Linked DNA regions of Homo sapiens: all the other regions are linked to region 4. The links are contacts of gene promoters, found by promoter capture Hi-C in blood cells and fetal thymus (Javierre and others, 2016). All regions are on one chromosome and are shown on one strand. Each heading gives the region's core, a stretch centred on a gene start or on the middle of the fragment in contact. The rest is flanking DNA. Distances are from core to core; before and after follow the strand shown. Region 1 overlaps RAPGEF2 (Rap guanine nucleotide exchange factor 2). Region 2 overlaps RAPGEF2 (Rap guanine nucleotide exchange factor 2). Region 3 overlaps TMEM144 (transmembrane protein 144). Region 4 holds the start of FNIP2 (folliculin interacting protein 2).

The links. Contacts are between HindIII fragments. The CHiCAGO score rates a contact against its expected background, and 5 or more counts as called.
Region 1: a contact is called between a fragment that was not itself captured here and the fragment with the promoter of FNIP2 in region 4, in 6 of 17 cell types (M2 macrophages, erythroblasts, megakaryocytes and 3 more). The highest score is 8.7, in M2 macrophages.
Region 2: a fragment that was not itself captured here is called in contact with the fragment with the promoter of FNIP2 in region 4 in 4 of 17 cell types (total B cells, erythroblasts, activated CD4 T cells and 1 more); the score reaches 7.8 in total B cells.
Region 3: a contact is called between a fragment that was not itself captured here and the fragment with the promoter of FNIP2 in region 4, in 1 of 17 cell types (M2 macrophages). The highest score is 5.4, in M2 macrophages.

Annotation. Positions count from the first base shown.
Region 1 is chr4:159,308,830-159,311,529 of GRCh38, reverse strand. All of the region lies in intron 8 of RAPGEF2 (Rap guanine nucleotide exchange factor 2), which reads right to left. Among named protein-coding and RNA genes, the nearest start is that of MIR3688-1, 180 kb to the right of the region's middle. The HindIII fragment of the contact is 1,134 bases long and covers 746-1,879 here.
Region 2 is chr4:159,288,914-159,291,613 of GRCh38, reverse strand. All of the region lies in intron 7 of RAPGEF2 (Rap guanine nucleotide exchange factor 2), which reads right to left. Among named protein-coding and RNA genes, the nearest start is that of MIR3688-1, 160 kb to the right of the region's middle. The HindIII fragment of the contact is 2,906 bases long and covers 1-2,700 here.
Region 3 is chr4:158,218,773-158,221,472 of GRCh38, reverse strand. It overlaps TMEM144 (transmembrane protein 144), which reads right to left. Exons shown (of 13, transcript NM_018342.5): 6 at 2,083-2,163. Among named protein-coding and RNA genes, the nearest start is that of TMEM144, 9.6 kb to the right of the region's middle. The HindIII fragment of the contact is 942 bases long and covers 898-1,839 here.
Region 4 is chr4:158,767,685-158,770,384 of GRCh38, reverse strand. FNIP2 (folliculin interacting protein 2) reads right to left here and starts at 1,359. Exons shown (of 17, transcript NM_020840.3): 1 at 1,066-1,359. The coding sequence starts at 1,172. RefSeq lists an enhancer at 714-1,451 and a silencer at 1,409-1,618. The HindIII fragment of the contact is 6,862 bases long and covers 1-2,700 here.

The sequences.
Region 1 (2,700 bases), core at 63-2,562, 540 kb before region 4:
ATCAAATAAGGGAGAAAGCAAGCCAGTCTCAAGCTAGATCAAAAGTCCCTTCCTCAAGGGGATACTTTCTTCATCTTAGAACTTGTACACCTTCTACCTCTCCCCATAGCAGCAATGAACGCTGCACGCAATTTATATTTGTGGAATTTGACCAAAAAACCCCACAAAATTCTGTTAAACACCACACTCTCCTTATATATTTGTAAAATAGTATCTTAGACTAACTGCACAAATACATTCTGGTCAACTGGTTCATACACCAATTATAAAAATAGTGATCCTATATTGAATGACTATCATATGTGTCTAGCACTAAAGTTGATGTTTTAAAACATAATAATCTTCATATCAATTCAGCAAGTTAGTATTACTAACCCTAGTTTACAGAGGAGAAAATGTCAAGGACATTAAATAAGTTGTTCAATGTAAGCAAAACAAAACACAGTAACTGTGCTAGGACTCAAAATCAGGTGTGACCAACCAAGAAATACTAAGTACTCTGCACTTTGCTCGACATTCTCAATAGTCTTATAAAAAAAAATTGAAATATAATACAGTAATAAAATGTTTTCCACTTTGCTAAGTCATAAAAGATAAAAAGTTTAAATACATATTTGCCTATGAACATAACACTTATTGTTTTCTAGCTTCCTCCAAATAACAACACTACTAAGACTCACGCATGTCTTTAAACCCTTTTTTTCTAAATAAAGACACTAAAACAGACGCTTTATATTTAAAAGCTTATCTGGATATATTTGTTTCAGGAACAAGGAGAAAGGTTTACATAGTTATGTTAGCCAAATAACTCCTGTCTTAAATTAATTTATCTTATACAGGTACTGACTAACATAGATTTTGTTGTCCATTAATATTTAAATAGTGATATTCTTTTAAAAACAATATTCTCAGATCAATGCTGAAAGCTCCACTATTTAAATCAAAAGGGACTAAATACATTCTGCTATTGTGAACACAGTTCTTAAAACCAATTTATTTTACATTTTTTAAAAAAAATCAAGAAAATTCACAAACAAAAAAATTTTTATGCCATAAAGCTCTACTGAAGTATTAATTTAACTAAAATAAAAATCAAATACTGCATGTTTTATCAGTAAGCACTTTAAAATCACTTGCCAAAAAAGTTTTGCTTATTAAAAGCATATATATGCCTAAAAGAGAAGAACAATTTTTTAAAGCTCTTAATGTAAATCGTTAGGTTGCTTCCCCAAAATTACAATCCTACGAGGAGTATATAAAAATGTCTATAAATGCTTATTTTAAGTAAGAAAATCTGTGCTAATTTGATAGGCAGAATAATTTCATATTTAAGTCCTTATATGCTCAATTACTATTATGTTTCAAATACTTAAGGTGTAGACATTTGCATTTTCGTTTCTGTAAGTTACCAACTACTGTCCTTTGAACATTTTAACATTGTGAGCTGAGTATTTTTCTTATTTGTGTAAATCAGTTATATTCTGACTTTAAATCTTCTTATCAATTGATGTTCTAATTACAAAATGTTTTGATCCTTTATTAAAACATTGTTTGCTAACTCTTTAGTTTATCAGGAATTTATTTTAATTATGATACAAAATAAGAATACAAAATGATTCCCCAACCCCAAAGACCATTTATTGAATGATCCATCACTTTCTTTATTGATTTGTGAAGTTTCCTCTATTACATATTACATCCTTACACATGAGTTCAATTTTGCTTGAACTCTCTGTTCTATTGATCTATCTATTTTGTACAACTATTTCCGGTTTGCCTAAGCCACTCGCTCTGATCCTGATGGCCATACCATTTAACCAGGACCTTATCATGGCTGGAAATGGCATTGTCTCGTATTACTAACTTAGGCATTAAAGCTTTCAATCACCAACAACCTTCTATTCTTTCAACCTGCCCCCATCTGCTTCTAAGGTAACCCTTTTTCAACTTAAGAAGGATCTTCACTCAAGACTCTACTACCTTCTGTGTCTAGTGTTCACACCTGTCTTCCTTTCATATCCAGCTTATATTCCCTAGTCTATTATTTCAATTACATTCATTCAACACATCTTTACTGAATGCCTAAAATTTCCTGGCACTGTGCTAGGCTCTAGGGGAAAAAATAGAGACAAGAGAGACAAGTTCCCTGCCTTCTTGAAGGTGTCATTCTTCTAGGCAGAGAGATAACATAAAAATTAATAATTGGTTCAATTGGCGTCTAGGAAGGAAATAAAAAGATTAGGCAGGAAAGGAATCAAAATGGAGGACTTCCTTTACAGAGGATTATAAAGGAACAACTCTGAGGAGATGACACTTGAAAACAAAGGCTGAAAAGGATCAAGCTAGGAGAAAACATTCCAGGCAGAAGGCATACAAAAGCTATGATCTGCAGTTAGAAAACGCTTGCCTTGTTGCTCGACCTGTCTTTGTATTACACTCACTTAACAAACTTCAGTCCTGGGTGAAGTCAAATCCTTGCTTTCTTTGTGCTTACTGTGGAGAAAGCTACTTAACAGAGCAGAGGGAAATCACTTTATATTTGAGGGCACTAACTCAATTGAATCTCCATTTCTCTGGTCAATTTGTTCTCCTACTCTCTGCAACTATTATTTCAAAACTTCTCTCTCCTTAAAACTCTCTACCTGCCAACCCTCTCACTCTCAACAAATGAACTCAACTCTTCCGAGAGAAAACAGAAGT
Region 2 (2,700 bases), core at 47-2,546, 520 kb before region 4:
TTAATAAGCAAATTGTCTGGTCAGGCATGGTGGCTCATGCCTGTAATCCCAGCACTTTGGAAGGTTGAGGTGGGAGGATAGCTTGAGTCCAGGGGTTTGGGACCAGCCTGGGCAACATGGCAAAACCCTGTCTCTACAAGAAATACAAAAATTAGCCGGGTGTGATGACACACGTCTGTAGTCCCAGCTACTAAGGAGGCTGAGGTGGGAGGATTGCTTGAGCCTAGGAAGTCAAGTGAACTGTGATTGCGCCACTGCACTCCAGCCTGGATGGCAGAGTGAAACCTTGTCTCAAAAAATGATAAAAATAATTACTAATCTCCACCCAATCCTCACACACACAGATGTATATATTCACACATACACAGGAAACTACCTTGATTTTAAATGACATCTCAGATCCTACCTCTAAAAATTTGCTTCTAGATTTTATGCAACAACCACCACCACAGGTACTCCTTTTCTAGTGACGGGTATTACAACTGAGCTAGACAATAATCTTTAAGACAAAAAATAATTATGTTACCCTTCTTAAGTTGCTAACAAAAACACTGGGTATTCATGTTATGTGTCTATCAATTTTTCCTTTTACTTCTGTGACAAAGATATCCATGTTAGGATTTATTTCTAAGGATTTCAATGATAAGAATTTAATTTCACATTTATTTTCAAAGGCTTCATGTGTCAACCCTGGCATGCCAGGTAATCTCATTGCTTTGGCTGTCGGGAGGGCACTATACAAGAACTGACTGAACATTTGTGGTGCATTACTCACTGTCTAGGGCCAGCAGGAATATATACTCATAAACTGCAAGAAGTCTAATAGATTTTTCTCTTTTCCTTCATCTTTTTTTTTTTTGTAAACCTTAGACACATGCCATTAAATGAATAGTCTGAATGACTATGACATCGTCAAGCACACATTACCTAAAAGAGACCCCCTCACTTCTGCCAATGCTCCAGCACTTTTCATGACTTTCTCAGTCACCTGCCATGATTGATTTACATCACCAGTTGAGTAACTCTCTTAGAAAGTACATTCTTCCCAAATTAATACAAACTTTTAATATTCTATTGCTGTATTAAGCTGTGGTTTACCTTCCTCAACTTCAGCTACTTTCTCTAAATGTTTCTGTTAAGTGTGTATGTGTATGCATACTGATGTATCATCCTAGGTTGAAATCAGGGAAACAGAGTAGCTTTCATTAAAATCCATTCAGAGAACCTGATGACTGGTTAAATAAAATCTGTGGTGTCAGTGCACATGCATGCACATACACAAAAGCAGGAATACTTTGAAAATGCCTTTAGATACAAAAAGTTTAACTTCCATAACCTTGAAGTTACACAGCCTCAATTCACCTTAGGAAAACCCAGAACTTAAAAAATTGACCAAGCTCCCACTATGTGTGACAGCACTCTGAGAGGGGATTTACAAATATGAACCCACTTCACTGTGGTGCCACTGTACTACCACTGTCCTATCTTGCTTCTTGTAACACCCTCTTCTTCATGTCGCAGCCAGAAGTAAACTTTTAAAACACGATAGGAAAATACACACCTGATCCTGTCACTCCCCTGCCTAAAATGTTTTAGTGGCTTCTCTTTCCCTTTGGAAAAAGTTATATTCCTAACCACTGCACCCCACTGTCTTCTCCTTTTGATCTTCTCACACTCACTTCTCTTCCCCTCAGCCTCTGTACTAAATATATAAATCTATTTCTGGTTATTTTAAATACAGCGAGATACTCTGTATCTCCTCCTGGGTCTTCATTGTTCCCTCTTCCGGGAAGAACACTCTCACCCCTGGCCTGGCTAATTCTCTGAACCCTCCTCCTGAAGTTAGAAATTCTTGTAAGATGTTCCTGTGATACCCAGAATGCTGCCTGTCACAGAACTTAAATACCTTTACAGTAGCTGCTGATTTAATAATCCAATGCCCTCTCTAGGTGTGTCTTTTTCATCACTCTTTTCCTAGCTTCTCATATAGTACCTAAGGTATAGTAAGTATTTAATGAGCAGATCATTGAACTGGTAACCCTACCTAGTTTAAAGTAGAAGATATTGAGGCTGAGAGAAATTGAACAGGGACTGTTTGATCCCAATGTTCTTTTCCTTACCAGCTCTATAGTCACCCCCTTCCATCAGCAATTATAGGTAAGATCACCAGAATAAAACTAAAACACAATGAACAGCAACTGTAGTTATGCAATAAATTTAGTTTAGCCTTCCTGGAAGCCAGCATCAAAAAAATTAATGACAAAACTTCTGAACTCAACATATTTTTAACTTCCTATCATAGATCTCAACAAGAAGCCTGTCAGATGAAGATATATAAAGTTACTCAGAACCATAAGATTCATTCATCTACTTAATTATCCAACAAGTATTTACTGACATCCTGTAACAAGCCGGTCACTGTTATAGGAACTAGTGATATGGCAATGACTAGGATTAGCAAAATCCCTGCTCCCTGAAACTTACACCCTTAAAGAGAGGAGGGGCTTGAGGGGAGAAGGGGAAAGGAGGAATATGTAACAATAAAAAATTTTAAAAAAAGATTTCAGCTATCAGTAAGTACTGTAGAGACAATACCACAAGAAGAGCATGTAATAGATGGTGATGGCTGGGAATGGAGAGGATACTATTTAAGACTGGGTGATCTGAGAAGGCTGCTCTGAGAAAATTACATCTGAAGTG
Region 3 (2,700 bases), core at 119-2,618, 550 kb after region 4:
TCTCTCCTGAACCATGGAGCATGGAAGACTGAAAATTACATTTCCCAAACTTTATTGGCAGCTAGGTTCTGCCAGGGGGAGGCACTTGCATCATTTGAGAAGATGGGAGAAGACATTATGTTTTGGTGGTGCCTCCAGTAGTTTCAGCAGGAGCAGTCGGTCAGGCAGAGGCAATTCAGCAGTATTGTGTGGGCTTCAGGGTTATGGGTGACACAACCTTCCTTCTTTTGCTCAACTGGGTCTTGCAAACAATTTCCTGTGTTAAATCCTCTCCTGTTTAAAATACCTGGAGAGGTTTTGTATACAGACTGATAGACACTTTGTATATCATATAAAGAAAATGTAAGACTAGAAATTAACCAACCTTTAAAAATTAGACTATACAGAGGATAGAAGCAATAATTTTAATTTTAAAAAGAAAAGCAATATCCTAAACGAATGCAACCCTATTTCAAGTGCATGAAACATGGACCATGAAGCTCCAAGTTTATTCAGTGAATACCCTTCAGAACAAACTGATTTAACTGAGTTAAAATAATGAAATGACATATTCCAGAAATTCCTCTTAGCAGAGAAACATAGAAGGGAGCCTAGATGCACTACGGGAAGAGTTCTTGAATTTCCCTGCTACAGACCAAGTTCAAATTGAGCTACAGGGTTCCTCAGGTGCACTGCCTACTGTAACATAAAGTTGGGCAACAAATACCCAACAGGGAAACAGTAATTGAACATAAATGTTATTAATAAAATAATTGTAATGGCAACTAATATGTAGAGCATTAACCATGTAATTAGCACTATATGAAGCACTAAACATATTTTATTTCATTTAACCCTCAAAATACTTTATGAGGTTGGTGCTATTATTATCCCTCTACAAATGAAGAAACCAAAGCTTGGAGAACTGAAGTTATTTGCCCATGGCCACATAGGTGGAAGTGGTAGAACATGAATAATTGATTTGCAATTTTAGAGAATGTACTTTTTCTAAATAAAGAAGAAATATGGAGGAAAACAATGCCTGATAGACTGGGTAAACTGGCCTTCAATTGTCATTAAGTCAAAACTAAGCCATCCTATGTTACAATTTTGGTGTGTAAAGAAATTGTTTTTGAGAGAGCTATTCAGAGCTAGAATTCTGTGTGAATTATACAAAATACATAAAATTGCCTCTAACCAAAAAAAGTCAGGAATCTGCTATTTTAGAATAATTTATGTTATCTTTTTCTCCAATTGGCCTGGGACTACTCTCTAAGGCAACATTTCAATGACAAAGAGATTGTTCCTGAATGTGCCTGGGGAAAAGCCATCATTGCTGAAGGAAGGCAAATATACTGTTCTTTCCCTAAGAATAAAAAAGTACTAAAATCTTTCTAGGCAGTACTATCCATTATGTGAAGAACTGACAGGGAATATAAATGGAATCCAGAGGGGAAAGAAGACTGAATTTAAGGTGACCCAGTTCCTGTTAAGTTTTATGGACTGAACACTGCCATACAGAGATTCAAAGTCATTTTCACCCTTATTCGTAGAGTGCATACAGCTAGACACAGATGCAACCAAACATGGGCATTCAAAAGAGTATGTGTTCTCACAGGTGAAAGAGGAGCTGTCTAGCTAGGTTGAGAAGAGTGAGTGAGGAGACAGGGGAAGTGGAAACTAGGTGAGATAGGAAGTGAGTAGTACATAGAAGAGAGAATCAGTGACTACTCCAGGGGCATCAGGAAGCCAGCAGAATGCTTTTTCTGAATAGCATGTTTTAGTTTGCAAAATATATGATTCTCATTGATAAGCTATGTGTTATGATTTTCTACATATTATAGATGATAAAACTAAGCTTAAGAGCAGTTAAATGATTTTCCAGGCTCTCAGAGTTTTGGAGAGCTAAAGCTGGGGCTGCCCCTGCCCCCAAATCTGGCACTTTTTGTCCTCTAAAACCAGTCATTGTAAATGAAGAATCTGAGGAACAAGCATGTGGATTTTACGAAATGTAGGTTTAAAAAATGTAAACATAGCAGGATCCTTAAAAAAGCACTCTCCATGTTTTGAAGAACAGCAAAATCACTAGAAATGACTGTGTACCTTACTACTGATAGCCCAGCTCCAATGTAATTTAGCAGCGGATTTGATACTTCTTCTGCATCCAATCCAAACCAGCCAAACCTGAAAATCCAGAAAGTCACATCAAATTAAATATTGTTAAGATGTTTCACCATAATGTTTAAGGGCATGGACTAGGGGCCAGATTCCTGGGTTCAAATGCTAGCTCTCTCACTTATTAGCTGTGACTTTGGGAAAGTTAATTATCTTCACTGTGCCTCAATTTCCAATTTTTTTAAATTAAAAAAAAATTTTTTTTTGAGATGGAGGCTTGCTCTGTCATCCAGGCTGGAGTACAGTGGTATGATCTTGGCTCACTGCAACCTCTGCCTCCTGAATTCAACCTATTCTCCTGCCTCAGCCTCCCAAGTAGCTGGGACTACAGGTGCCTGTTACCACGCCTGGCTAATTTTTGTATTTTTAGTAGAGACAGGGTTTCACTGGTCTTGAATTCCTGAAATCAAGCGATCCACCCACCTCGATCTCCCAAAGTGCTGAGATTATAGGCGTTAGCCAACGTGCCCAGCCTCCCATGTTTAAAATGGGATAATAATTATACCTACCTTATAAGTTTGTTACAAAGATTAAATGAGTTAGTAT
Region 4 (2,700 bases), core at 110-2,609:
GCAAGACATTTTGGCCAAAAAGCACCTAGCATAGTGTCAGAATTGGGAGTTGGTGCTCAATTTTAAAATGTGTTGAAAAATTGTTAAATAAACTTCTCAACATACCTGTGCTCAAAGGCAATATAGGACATTTTAAGGCGTCTTTTAAAAGTTAGCCCTTGAAATCAGAATAGCATAGGGATTTTAAAGACTGGAATCTGTGGTCAAACTGCTTGGGTCAAAACACAGGCTCTACCACTGACAGCTGGATTTTGGGCAAGCCGCCTAAGTTATCTGTGACTTTAAGTTTCCTCACCTGTAAAATGGGAATTATAATAGCACCCACCTCACCGCATTGTCAGAAAAGTAAACGACAGAAATCAACATAAAGCATTTTAGGTAGTAAGCTCTCCATAAATGCTATCAATATTCAAAGGTATGTGTTCGAGAGATCAAATCTATTAAATATACATATCAGCTTTGATCAATTGAAATCTCGGAAATTTCATAATTGCATCTTACTCCCCCTTTCCACACATCATGCGGCATCAACCTTCCACATGATGTGGAAATTACATACTTTCATTCATCCGTTTGAGAGCTTGTCATATATGGCAAGAAAGAAGAAAGATGCCTTTTTCGTGACTGTTGCTCCTTCAGAACTTCAAAACACTGTCACGTACACAATAGGTTGGAGCTGCCCTCAAAATGACAGCTCACAGCTTTGCTGGGCCCGCAGAGGTGCCCAGGCGGCTCTGCCCGGAAGGGGTTCACCCCAATAACCGGAGAATCTCCGGTCGCCACAGCCAAGCACAGCGCACGCCCGGGAACCCCAAGGAACACAAGAGAACTCTGAAATGGGGAAGGACCCTGAGTTGTGGAGAAAGAGCGGGAGGAAGGGTCACGGAGGGTCCGGAGCCACACTCGGATCAGGCGCGTCCACGCTGACAAGCCCGGGACCAGGTGCCGGCGATAGGCAGCGCCGTCCTGGACAGTCCCTTCCCTTTCCCCTACCCGTCCCCTCCCCGGCGAGCACCGAAGCCAACTCGGGTCCCGCGCCAGAATTGCCCCCCGGCGCCCCCTCACCTAAAGGCGGGTCCTTCCTTAGGAGCCCTGCCCTGGGCAGACGCCGCCGCGGAGCTGCCGCTGCTGCCCCTTTTGTTGAAGAGCTTCTGGAGCAGGGTCGGGGCCATGATGCCGCCGCCGCAGCTCCGGCCGTGGCGCTCGGGGGGCCGGCGGCTCAGCGCGCAGCCGGGGGCGGCGGCCGCGGTGGCGGGGCCATCGCGGCGGCGCGGCCGCCCAGCCTTGCGGGAGCGCGGGGCCGCTGCGACTGAGTAACTCTGCTCGGCGCCGGAGCCGCCGGCTGCCGGTCATATGACTGAGCCGGCCCGCCACCGCCTCGCGCGCTGACAGTTATCTCCTGCGGGAGGAGCCCGCAGCCCCACGGCGGCGGCGGCGGCGCGGGAGGAGCGCGGCGGCCCCGGCGGCGGCCATTGGCCCGGCGGCCGCCCGCCCCGGGCTCACGTAACCCCGGCGGGAGGCGGGAGGTGGGAGGTGCGGCCAGGAGCGGGCGGGCGGCCCAGTACTCCGGGCACGCGGGGGACGCGGACGGGGGCAGGCGCGGCACTTAAAGGGGCCCGAGGGGCGAGGGCGGCCGCCGGGGCGCAGCTCCGCGAGTGGCGTGGGGTTCCCACGGAGCCTGGGTTCTTTCGCACAGCGAGCATGCAGCTAGGCCGATCTTTGTTCTTTAGAGACAAAGCCCCTGAACTTGGGTCCTCGCTTTGTTCAGGTACAAGAGCCCGTTCACAGAAGGCGTATGCTAGGGGGGAAGGCTTGGTACGCGCGGTGGCCGCTTCGGTGGGCTGTGATTTGAATCACATAGCACCCAAGGTTTTGTCAGGTTTCCTCCATGTCCAAATTCGATTCCTCCAGGCTTTCACAAAATTTAAACTGTTTATCCAAATCATTTGTTCTGTTTGGCGTCTTGGGCCACCATACCATGGTTATATAAGAAGTTGCATTTGAAATATTAAGTCCCCCCTTTAAAACATACACACACACACACACACACACACACACACACACACACAGAACTCACTACATAGATTTAGAAACTTAAGATATTTTATAGCAAGGGATTGTTTTTCCTAATACATATTTAACAGTCAATCAAGGCATATCAGCAGCAGATATTTGGTTTGAGGAAGGGAGGAGTTCATGTGTTTGAGTCCGCTTTCCTGCCCTGTCCCACCCCAGTCCCCTTTGGAATTTAATCCTTGGTGGTGCAGGGCTCTAAACAGCCAGTGTAGGACACGTTACCAGACTCAAAGCAACTTCTTAATCTATGTTTTAGAGCGTTGGGCTTCACGAATTTTTCCGATGATGGGAAATAGAGATAAAGTTAGTAAGACCCCAACCATGCCTCTTCTAGCTTCTCCATGAGTAGTGAACAGTGACTCACCTGGGCTCTCTTACACTTGTTGAGAGGAGGACTCTTGGAGACTCAAAAAGGAAAATATATTTCCAAAAACATAAGTAATCAAAAGAACCTATTCTGGGCCTATTTTACTTTGCATTTTCTTTTTTTAATTGTGTTAGTTTCTGGACTTGGTTGGGAACTAGCTGTGAATAATGTGCTGAAATTTCACAAAGGTAAGAGAAAGGTGGTAGAAATGGAAACTTAGTCATTTGTTTCCTTCGGACTTTTACTGTTAAAATGGT